Linked DNA regions of Homo sapiens: all the other regions are linked to region 1. The links are contacts of gene promoters, found by promoter capture Hi-C in blood cells and fetal thymus (Javierre and others, 2016). All regions are on one chromosome and are shown on one strand. The core of a region is centred on a gene start or on the middle of the fragment in contact, and the rest is flanking DNA. Distances in the headings are between cores, read along the strand shown. Region 1 holds the start of BMP8A (bone morphogenetic protein 8a). Region 2 has its middle 76 kb from the start of MACF1. Region 3 has its middle 28 kb from the start of MACF1.

Region 1 (3,885 bases), core at 613-3,112:
CTCCTAAACAGCTTTCTCCTCTGCCCCTCCACCCCATCACCATTAGAGACTCATGGTCATTGTACCCACCCCCACATCTGATTGCTGTACCTGCCTCCAACTGCAGGGCCCTGACTCCTGTCTCCCTCTGATCCATATTCCGCTCTGCTTCCAAGCTCTGGTCTTGGGTACTTTCAACGGTTATTCTGCATTATCCTTAGCTCAGTATCCTTATGGGACAGTCCCAGTCCGCAGGGTAGCCCCGGCTTCTAGGCGGTGGCATCCACATCTGCTCTGCCCGGAGCTGATGCAGGTGCCTCATGGGGGGCGCTCTGGGGACCGCGCAGAAAATTTACGAGCAGTGTGGAAATATACCTGTTGGGTAAAAGACAAACTAGGCGTGTGTTTAAGGCACCAGCAAATGACTATTTAGATTAAGAATTTGTTGTAGAAAATTTTATTGAAGTGATGACTTCCAAATGTGATTTTTGGGGGCATTATACACTTGCTTCGAGGTTTAATCTTCAATCCACATGGCGGGGCACCATAATCTCTGGTGCCCAGGGCCCTCGTCTAGCCCCTGTGAGGCCCTTTGCGGTGCCTCCCTTGCCAGCCCCTCCAGCCTCCGCCGTTTGCCCCCTGGGCTCTCCAGTTTCCACTGCCCCCCTGCCCGAGCGCAGCTCCACTGCTGTGTGACCTGGCGTAAGTCCCTTAACCGCCGTGTGCCTCAGTTTCCTCATTTATTAAAAGAGGAGGTTCCAGTGGTATGTACCCCCTAACGATGTGCGAGCATCACAGAAATGACACGAGACACACACTCAGAACATGCCTTGGCGTGGCAAGTGCTGACTGTTGCCATTATTAGGCTCCCCAGCCGGGGTCTCAGGGCCTTGGCACAAGCTATTCCCTCTGCCTGGAGCACTTTCCTCCACTGACCTTTCCTGGCGCTCCAGGTCAACTCCAGGAGCCTTCCCAGTGCAGTCTAGGTGCCTTCTCCTTCCGCAGCGCCTGAACCACACAGGAATAAGTAAGGCGAGAGCGCGCCCAGGGAAGAGCAGGTGTGCAGAAAGGGACTGAGTCAGTCGAGACGTTTCCGCGGGGATCCTTCTCTTGGCAGGCCTGCACCGGGGCCGTGGGGACTGAGAAGATGTGCACAGGTGGCTCCCGAGTGCTCGGGAAGGGCCCCAGAGCTTCTGGCCCAGCTGGAGGCAGGAGGCGGAGCCTCCTCCGCAAAGCTGGATCAGTACCGGGGACGCAGGGCGCACAGCTAGGGCTGGCGGGGGCGGCCCGACTGGGGCGCTGCCTGGGCTCACGCGGGAGCCAGGTGGGGGACGCAGGGAGAAGCAGCCGAGCAGGTGCCGAGAAGGAGGCGCCCGCAGAAGCGCATGCAGGGGCCACGGGGAAGGCGCCAGGAGGCGGTGAGGGGCCGCGGTGGCCGGAACCCGGGCCGGCTGCTGCGGGCAGAGGAACAGGCCCCACCCGCGGGGCTTGGCTGGCACCGCCCGGCTCTCCAGACGGGGCTACGGCCGCGTGTCGGGCCCGGTGGCGACCACGGCACACCACGGCGAGGCAGCCGGGTGGCACCACTGGCGGGACCGGGACGGCGCCGCGGCCTTAGGATCTCTGCGCCGAGGCCCGCGGCGGGAGCCACGACGGCCCTGACCACGCTGACGCCCAGGCTGCGGGCTCCTCGCCCGGACCAACCGCCAGCCACGCCGAGGTCGCACCTCGGGGTCGCCCCACCCGCAACACCTGCCGCCGCCCGGGGCTCCTAGCGGGCGCGGCCTCCGCGCCCAGGCCCCGCCCCCGCGCCCCCATTGGTCAGTCCCGGGGGTGGGCGGGCGGCACAGACGGCTGAGCCGGGGCAAGGACTCGCGGGAATCGCGCCGCCCGGGTCGCTGCCGGAGCTCGCCGGTCGCCCCTGCGCTGCGCGGACCGCAGCCACAGCCGGACTGGTGGGAACGGCGGCGACAGACGGATTGGCTGACAGTCCCAGCCCTCAGAACAGCCCCGGCCTCGAAGCGTTGGCGTCTGCGTCCGCGTCAGCGTCCGCTTGTCCCGGAGCCGGGGCAGGTGCGCGCGGGGGGCGCTCCAGGGACCGCGCTGAGGCCGCAGACGCCGCCCGCCGAGCCCCGCCCCCTGCTCGCCGAACTCAGCTCCCCGTTCGCCGTCGGGGCGTCCCCGGGCCCAGGGGCGGCGGCGGAGCTGATGTGCGCCCGCTGAGCGCCCCCGGCCCGCCATGGCCGCGCGCCCCGGACCGCTCTGGCTTCTGGGCCTGACGTTGTGCGCGCTGGGCGGGGGCGGCCCCGGCCTGCGACCCCCGCCCGGCTGTCCCCAGCGACGTCTGGGCGCGCGCGAGCGCCGGGACGTGCAGCGCGAGATCCTGGCGGTGCTCGGGCTACCCGGGCGGCCCCGGCCCCGCGCGCCACCCGCCGCCTCCCGGCTGCCCGCGTCCGCGCCGCTCTTCATGCTGGACCTGTACCACGCCATGGCTGGCGACGACGACGAGGACGGCGCGCCCGCGGAGCAGCGCCTGGGCCGCGCCGACCTGGTCATGAGCTTCGTCAACATGGGTGAGTGCGGCCGCCCGCGCGGGGACCCTCGGAGTAAGCTGGCTGCAGGGGAGGGGCGCGCATCCGCGGGCGGTGCCGGGCCCTGGCCGAACGGGGAATCACAGACGGTGGACGCGAACCACAGGGGAGTGGGACCGCCGTGGTTAGGGAAGGTCTAAGGGTCATGGGGGCCCCCTGGGCTGCGGGGTGGTCAGGAGCAGAGTGTGGGGGACTGTGGACTCCCAGGCGCTGCCTTCACCCTGCCCCAGACACACCCAGGAGTAAGAATTAGGTGATGTCTTTGCCCACCTGGGCTGCCCCGGGAAGACAGCCTGGTCCTGGGGAGACAGGTGAGTAAACAGAGGCCGGGATGCTGTCACTGTGATAAGGACAGTACTGAGGAGAGGGACAAAGTTCAGCGTGGAAACCTGTGGTCACATCATCGGAGTGACCAGAGCTGAGTCGCGTGCCCTGAGTCCACAGCAGGCTCTTCCCTGTGCGGAGCCTGGGTGGGGTGCGGCTGTCAGGGGAGCGGCTGGGGAAGGAGCAGACTCAGCTCGCTGGGGCAGGGACTGTGGCCTTGTCACCCTGGGCCCTGCACTTAGCATGTGGCCTGGTATAGGGTGAGTGTCCGGTCCTGTGGAATGGCCCAGTGGGCAGCTGGACCCACTGTGTTCTCCCAGGCAAAGCCGGGCTTTTCCTGTCTGCAAACATCTTGTATCAAACCCTGGAGCTATTTATTCCTTAAGATCTCAGATTTTTCTTTTCCAGTACTAAACTCTTTGGTCTATGCTCGTGTAGTTACTGTTGGTCAGGTCCCCCGTCTGCTTTGCCTCCTGTCTGTGGCTAGTGACAGGCCGGGGTCTGGGAGCCAAGGACCACAGCTCAGCCCGAAGTGGGGGAGCTGTGGGGCTGAGAGCAGGGAGTGGGTACCTGCCCCAGCCACCAGCCTCCCTCCACAGACAGCATCATTAATTCTTCATCCTCCCGACAACCCTGATAACAGCCACGGTCTTCATCCCCATCTCCCAGATGAGGACAGTGAGGTTCAGAGAGGCAGCGCCATGCCTAGGACAGCGCAGCCTCTATGTTGCTGAGCCAGGACAGGCCCAGGAAGCCTGACTGTCCATCCAGGGCTCAATGAGATGACATTTCTGTTGTCAGGTCAGGCTTTCAGGGTGCAGAGAGCTTTCTGAGGAGTCTGGGCTGAGGAACACAGGGTACTGAGCTGCAGCAGGTCTTGTGGGGCCATCAGCCATTTGCTTCCTACACTAGAGCAGAAGAGGGCATGGCCAAGCCTCTGCTTCCCGCAACCCAGAGCTGGTGGTGGAGGCGAGCAGCAGAAGGCAGCCAT
Region 2 (3,885 bases), core at 606-3,105, 360 kb before region 1:
ACATATATGAAATTAACTTTCTTTGGTCTTTTAAGATTTATTACTAAGATTTAACTAGAGTTAAAACTTTCCTTGTCCTGTTGGCCGGGTGCCTTGGCTCAAGCCTGTAATCCCAGCCCTTTGGGAGGGTGAGGCAGGTGGATCACCTGAGGTTGGGAATTTGAGACCAACATGGCGAAACCCCGACTCTACTAAAAATAACAGAGTAGCTGGGCATGGTAGTACACGCCTGTAATCCCAGCTACTTGGGAGGCTGAGGCAGGAGAATTGCTTGAGCCCAGGAGGCAGTGATTGCAGTGAGCTGAGATCACGCCACTGCACGCCAGCCTGACAACAGAGCGAGAGACTCTATCTCAAAAAGAAAATAAAAGCTCTTCTTGTCCTGCTAATTCTGCATTTTGATTTTTGGCAGCATTTAGGAAAGAGCTGAGGTGGACCTGGTGTGTAGCGTTGGTGGGAGTTCCTTCGTTTTCTGGGCTGAATGATTTAATAATAATATAATAGTGGCTTTCATTAATTTCTTACTATGTGCCAGGAATGGACTGTGTTAAGCACTTTATATACATTAATCCACTTAATTCTCATGATAACCCTGTGAAATAGATTATCTCATTTTGCAGAGGAGAAAAGTGGGTCTCAGCCAGTGAAATAACTTGCTCAAGTTCTCTCACCCAGTAAATGGTAGAGCAGTCATTTATGTGTAGCTCTGTTGGACTTCAGAACTCCAGCTCTTAACTCAGTATATACTTTTCCTTCACTTCCTTGAATAGAACTGTTTGGCTTGAGTCTCCTTTTCTCTAAAAACTCCTAGTTCTGGAATGGTGCCAACTTAAGGGGTCAGGGAAGTGACCTTTACTTGTGTTCCTTTGAGCTGTTATTGTTTTCATTGGGAAAGAGAATGTGAAGTCAGTTCACATTTCTTACCTACTGGTTGCAGTCTTGCCATGGGGCCCTAGTCAGATGTGAGATGTTGTAAGTTACTTAAAAAAAAAAATGTCCTAGTGATTAAGAGGAAAAAACATAGGCCTGCTATGTTTATGTAACTCTCTTTTGTATTATTACAAAATTAAACATGTTCACTGTAATACATTTAAGCAGAAATTACAAAGAAAAAAGTAAAAATTCTCTTTTCTAGTCTTTATTTTCTCCACCTAGGCCCACTGGTCAGGGTAACCACTGTTCAAGCTTTGGTTTGTATCCTTACAGGTTTTTTCTTGCCAGGCTTGCTTTGGAACTGCACCTTTACATCCTTTATATTCCTTTAGGTTGGTTGTGTCTCTTCTTGACTCATGAGCCTTACCTCTTATTTATTTTTATTACCATACATCTGGCTTACATTTTTATTTTTTATTTTTTTTTTAGAGACAGGGTCTTGCTACATTGCCCAGGCTAGTGTGCAGTGGCTGTTCACAGGCACCATCATAGCACAGTGCAGCCTCAAACTCCTGGTCTTAAGCAGTGCCCCCTGAGTAGCTGAGACTACAGGACTGCACCACTGCACTGGGCTGCCTTACTTTTGAGTCTCCCTTTGATACTTAAGAGTTCTGCCATAGGGCCAGGCACGGTGGCTCACGCCTGTAATCCCAGTACTTTGGGATGCTGATGGATCACAAGGTCAGGAGATCAAGACCATCCTGGCTAGCACGGTGAAACCTCGTCTCTACTAAAAATACAAAAAAAAATTAGCCAGGCGTGGTGGCGGGCGCCTGTAGTCCTAGCTACTCGGGAGGCTAAGGCAGGAGAATGGCGTGAACCCAGGAGGTGGAGCTTGCAGTGAGCCGAGATCACGCCACTGCTCTCCAGCCTGGGTGACAGGGTGAGACTCCGTCTCAAAAAAAAAAAAAGATTTCTGCTATTGCACCCTTTTCTGTAGTCTTTCCCTCACCTCCTGGTAAAATTTTACTTACCTTTGAAGCTCAGTTCAAGTCCTCCCTTTTACATTAATCCACTGGAAAGCTAACCCATGATAACTCATTCTGCTTCATAACTCATAGCATTAATTTCTACCACTCATTTGCCAGTTGACCATGAAATGCCGTGTATCGTCACTTGTATTTTATTATTTGTTATTTAACTTATCACACATTTGCCCAGTTAGATTGTGCTGCTTGGGCTCATGGTGATTTATTCTTTCTAGTCCCAATTTTGCCTAACACAATGTCCTACATTTAGCAAGTACTCAGTAAATGTTGATGTGATTGGATTTTGTTAGTACTTCACACCCTTCTAAAGATCAGGTGCTTAGAGCCGGAAGCCTAAGGGAACACTTACCTGGCTGACATCATCTTGGCTGCCTGTCAAGATGGGGTGTGTGCCTGAGAGAACTGCCCGTAAATGAAATACTTGTGCAACAGGTTATGTTTTCTCCTTTAGTGGGTGGGATTCAAGACTTCACATTGGGAAAAAGAGATAGTAAGTGTAGGAAGAGGGCTGAAAAGGGGATGGATGGGAGGATGCTACCTTGTGAGAGGTGGGGATATGGCTTTATTAAAAACATAAATATTAAAGGCTGGCGTATTGCAGAGAGAAGCTTCTTGGAACCAGCAGGCTAATTAGGCAAACTGGCTTCTCTGGTGCAAACCAGTTGTTAATTGCCATTTATTTTCTTTGCTATAAAACTGTACCAGCCATCTACTTACTTTCTCATTAGAGTGAATCTGGAGAAAAGGCTTAGGTTAGATTTAGGAAATCCAGGAGAAAAATGCAGGACAGTCAGAGTAAGACCAGGGATGGGCATAATCCTTTCTCTCACTTGTCTTACCAGCCCTAGACCTTAAGGGTGGCCAGGACCTCCTTGCATTTGCCAGTAGAGGTTGCTATTGAAGTAGTGTAAAACCTCTTGTTTCTATTCCTGCTAACTCCTTTTGCCCCATCTTATTTTTCTCCTTCACTGACACCCTCCTATCACACACACATTATTGGTTAGTTATCATTCCCATCTCTGAGGTTCACATATGCAGTGGACCACCCTGCCTTTAGCTGTCCAGACTTTGACTGCAACCTGTCTTTCTATTCCACTCCTCCTCCCCTCCCCCAAATGATTTGAAATGGAGAGGAAAGGAAATGGAGTTTGATGGTTTTAACTCTTCTGTGGCTGTGGCTTAGGGAGCAGAATGTTTTGATTGCTTGATTTAGGGGTCTTGAGGTCTCCTAATACAATATTCTTTTTGTTAATAGAAAGGCCCCACTCCATTTTTTTTTTCTCTGAGTATTTTGGACTCAAAGTCTTGTGTTGAAATGTCGGTACCTGCCCCCGAAGGGGAAAAGATCCCTTTCAGAGTTTATTTTTCCCCCCCATTCATGGGGAATTCTTCTCATTATCAGAAGATGAAGATTACTGGTCCTTTGAACAGAGTATAAATATAGCCAACACCCTAATATATTTCTAATGATTGGGCTTTAGCTTTAAAAACATTAGGCTAGATGCCTCCCTATTTTTTGTGGCATGATTTAGCTGTAACTAGCCTGGAGGCAATAACAATACTAAATGACCTTTTGTAGTCACATTAAACATTGAAATGGTACTGAGACTGCCTTGGTGGGGAGTTTTGGCCTATGGGAATGATGTGAGTTTTGGTTTCTACTCCTTTCTCTGTTTTCAGATAAATCCTCCTACATGTCCCATTCTCTGGCTCTGGGAAGTACTGACAGTAGGGAAAAGTTAGTACACTCATCTCATTGTTCAGATCAAGTTTCCTGGGTGCGGTTTTGCAGAACTTCCTACAAGAGCTGACTCAAGAGTTCTCTTCTATTGTGGAGATGTTCCTGCTCTTATATGTCATACTAATTTATATCCTTGAAATTTTGAGCAGCATCATTTGGATGTGTTAAGTTGGGAATGAAGAAAGTGAAAATATTTTCAGAGATTCCTTGAGAAAAGGGTTC
Region 3 (3,885 bases), core at 476-2,975, 310 kb before region 1:
TGCAGGAGGTTAGGTTGTAAAGTTTACACATAAAGTGAGGATTCCAAATAATCAAAATTATCATGGAAAATATCTCAAATGACCCAGAAATTAAAGTATATAAACATGGTTTTGTGTATATGCCAGAACAAAGTTGGAATACCATATGAAATAGTTGGCCTGTAATTAGGAGACATTTTATATGAAAAAATAAGTATTCTCAAAAACTAGAATCATGTACAGCATTCAGAATGCTCACAATGTGAAGAGGCACACCGGACTTAGACATGCTAAAGTCTCAGATTCAAGTCCTCTCATCTCATGCTCATGTTCATCCTGGTAAATAACTTCACTTTGGTGTAAAACCTCATTGAGTGGAATTGTGAGCAAACTTTTGTACTGTTTATTTTTCTCTTCCTGGTCAAGTTTGCATAGTTAAATGCAAGTATGTTGTGATTGTATTTTATCCTTCTTTTCTGCTTTCTGTTTTTCTAATTTCTTCTTCCCTTTTAAAAATCCTCACTGCCGGGGGCAGTGGCTCACACCTATAATCCCAGCACTTTGGGAGGCTGAGGCAGGCGAATCACTTGAGGCCAGGAGTTTGAAACCAGCCTGGCCAACGTGGTGAAAGCCTCTCTCTACTAAAAATACAAAAATTAGCCGGGTGTGGCCAGGTGCAGTGGCTCACGCCTGTAATCCCAGCACTTTGGGAGGCCAAGGAGGGTGGATCACAAGGTCAGGAGATCAAGACCATCCTGGCTAACATGGTGAAACCCTGTCTCTACTAAAAATACAAAAAAAAAAAAAAAAAAATTAGCCAGGTGTGGTGACGGGCACCTGTAGTCCCAGCTACTCGGGAGGCTGAGGCAGGAGAATGTCATGAACCCGGGAGGCGGAGCTTGCAGTGAGCTGAGATTGCGCCACTGTACTCCAGCCTGGGCGACAGAGCGAGACTCCTTCTCAAAAAAAAAAAAAAAAAAGCCAGGTGTGGTGGCAGGCGCCTGTAATCCCAGCTACTCAGGAGGGAGGCTAGTGCAGGAGAATCACTTGAACCCGGGAGACCCAGGTTGCAGTGAGCCGAGATCACACCTCTGCACTCCAGTCTGAGTGGCAGAGTGAGACTCTGTCTCCAAAAAAAAAAAAAATTCTCACTTTCTTCTTCTAAATCCATTTTATAGCACACAACAATTCTTCTCTTACCCAGAATGCTTATTTGTGTGTTAGCTTGTCCCATTTCTTAGTCATTTTCGTTATTCAAAATTATTTAAAGGAGAATTGAGAGTAGGAAGGGAAGACTTCTAATAGTCCTCTTCGTTTAAATTCTGTAATCATAGCTTCCACTCTCCTCCTTTTAGGTCCTCTAACTTTTGATTCTTATACCTTGCATATGAGGCTCTTTCCTTCTTTTTCCCCCCATTTTAGTCATTTTTCTGTAGAAAATTTCTGCTTATGCTTGGGGAGCTAGATATGAATTCTTGTTATACTTACTAAGCATCACTGGTTCTATCTCTAGATGTTTAATAGTCAGGTTTTTAGATCAATAGGTTTTTAGATCAATCCCAAATTCATAGTGTCATGAAAAGATAGATGAGGAACTGAGCCCACCTGGAGAAGTCAAAGGATACTTGGGCCAAGTGATATAACTAGTTATTGACAAGCTTAAACCATGACCCAGGGTTCTGATGTACAGTTGAATGCCTTTCCTCCAAATCACATTGCTTGCTGTTGAAGCCTTGGCTAGGAGTAATCTTTAGTAAGATCCTTGAATTGTGACTTTTTTTCTTTTGTTTAATTTTATTACAGTTCCTTCCTTTAACAAAAATGCTAAGTAATATAAGCTTTAAGAGGGTTAAAATTAGTCCGGTTTCAAAGATATATTTGAGAATTATGTAGTATCTCTTGAGATAGTCTAGAGATCTTAGAGCTACGTTGGGGCCTAAGGACTGAGAATCGCTGTCATCAGACTAGAGGTTTGAGAAAAGGAGATTTTTATTTATTTATTTTTGAGACCTAGTTTCGCTCTTGTTGCCCAGGCTGGAGTGCAATGGCGCAATCTTGGTTCGCCACAACCCCCGCCTCCCAGGTTCAAGCGATTCTCCTGCCTCAGCCTCCTGAGTAGCATGTGCCACCACGCCCAGCTAATTTTGTATTTTTAGTAGAGACGGAGTTTCTCCGTGTTGGTCAGGCCGGTTTCAAACTCCTGACCTCATGTGATCCACCCGCCTCGGCCTCCCAAAGTGCTGGCATTACAGGCGTGAGCCACCTTTCCCGGCCTAACTACTGTTTCTATAGAAGGAGTTTTCCAGATTGATGCCTAATGTACAAATAACTGCATCATCAGTCCCTGGCTGTCATCATTTTGCTGTGCAAAAAGGGAACATCAGAGAGGGGTCCAGGAGCCACTCCACATATCATTCGTAAATGTTATTGCTAATGGAGAGAGGGATGATGGTGGGGGCAGGCGTATTTGTGTTCATAGAGGAAGGTAGGACTGTAATCTCCATGCCTAGTTTCTGATTGGCATTGATAATATAACCATCTTTCAGAGAGTCAGCTCCAAGAGGTAACTGGGAAACATCTCAGTTTTGCTCCGGGCACTATTTCCTTTGCCATCTATACCAGAAGCTGTGGTGAATGGGAAAGCCATTGCTTTCTGAAGTGCCCTTAGGCCTTTCTCAGTGACTCTTAAGTTTTAAGAATCATTTGGGTGAGCATAATGCTGAAATCCTGTAGCTATGAAAGCTGCACTGCCATGGCAATAAAACTCCCCATTGAATAAGTAAAATGGCAATTTCCAGGAATCTGGGTGGTAGTTATTTCAATCAAGTTGAGAAATGGGATCACCGAGAGGGGGATTTCCGCAGAATCTGGGCTGTCAGGGAAATCTTTAGGCTGTCAGGGAAATCTTTATTCCCCATTGTCTTCTCCTTACAAATTCCAGGAGAGGAGTATGAGGTTATATTTGTGTCCTCAGTAAGCCCATAAAGGTCAGCCAGTGTGCTACCTTACATTGTAATTTTCCTTTTCAACATTCTTTTTTTTTTTTTTTTGGTTAAATTTTACTTTAAGTTCTGGGATACATGTGCAGAATGTGCAGGTTTGTTACATAGGTATACATGTGCCATGGTGGTTTTCATTCGTTTATGTACTGAACATAATCTTAGTACCTCACAGACAGTGCACATGTACTAACACCTTTCCTGAAACCTTAAAATATAAGAAATATAGAAATACAGGTAGTTTGTAAGTCTTTGCTCTTGGGGAAGCCAATTTTGGATTTCCTTTGTCTTTTTGTCCTATCATACTCCTTGAAAGGGGTAGTAAAAGCATTTTTCTCTTTTTCCCTCTCTGTAGTTCACCCCAGTGGGGCACATAGTTGCTGGATTCAGCAACGTTCTTTCCCAAATGATTCTTAAGGCATGCGGGTCACTGAGGTTTATTTTTAAATCCATAACCCAGGGTTCAGCAGTTGTCCTTACTGAATTCCCGTGTGGAGGCTTTCAGCTGCCCAGACACCCCCACGTCTTTACTGGGCACATTCCAGCAGTCCTAAAGTCCTGACCCTCAGGAGTGAAATTCTGGTCTGGTGTCTCACTCCTGGAATTCCTTCATGAGGCATGGCTATGGCATGAATCAGGTGTCAGATTGGAAAGCCAAGAGATCAGGTGGCTTGTGATCATAATATAAAAAATTTCTAACTGGTAAAATGGTTTTGGAGACTTAATGCGTATTGAAAGTTTCTTTCTGCTTTATTGTCAGCCTTAGCCGCCTCTTGATGGTCTCTTTAGTTCCTTTCCTGGATTGTCTAGGAGCATGCTGGAGGCAGTCAGAACATAAGGAGTTAAATTGCAGTGAACTTATGGAGAATGATTAAACAGTGATTAAGTGATATTTTAACTTCTGTTT

What was found. The method cuts DNA at HindIII sites, captures the fragments that hold promoters and counts their contacts. A CHiCAGO score of 5 or more calls a contact.
Region 2: a fragment that was not itself captured here is called in contact with the fragment with the promoter of BMP8A in region 1 in 1 of 17 cell types (total CD4 T cells); the score reaches 5.4 in total CD4 T cells.
Region 3: a fragment that was not itself captured here is called in contact with the fragment with the promoter of BMP8A in region 1 in 2 of 17 cell types (fetal thymus and total CD4 T cells); the score reaches 5.9 in fetal thymus.

The regions. Positions count from the first base shown.
Region 1 is chr1:39,489,774-39,493,658 of GRCh38, forward strand. BMP8A (bone morphogenetic protein 8a) reads left to right here and starts at 1,863. Exons shown (of 7, transcript NM_181809.4): 1 at 1,863-2,552. The coding sequence starts at 2,219. LOC124904101 (a long non-coding RNA gene) reads right to left here and starts at 1,775. Exons shown (of 2, transcript XR_007065978.1): 1 at 916-1,775; 2 at 1-354. RefSeq lists silencers at 1,362-1,991, 2,092-2,191. The HindIII fragment of the contact is 20,371 bases long and covers 1-3,885 here.
Region 2 is chr1:39,126,868-39,130,752 of GRCh38, forward strand. It overlaps a transcript of MACF1 not described here. Among named protein-coding and RNA genes, the nearest start is that of MACF1, 76 kb to the right of the region's middle. The HindIII fragment of the contact is 1,345 bases long and covers 1,184-2,528 here.
Region 3 is chr1:39,175,169-39,179,053 of GRCh38, forward strand. It overlaps a transcript of MACF1 not described here. Among named protein-coding and RNA genes, the nearest start is that of MACF1, 28 kb to the right of the region's middle. The HindIII fragment of the contact is 180 bases long and covers 1,636-1,815 here.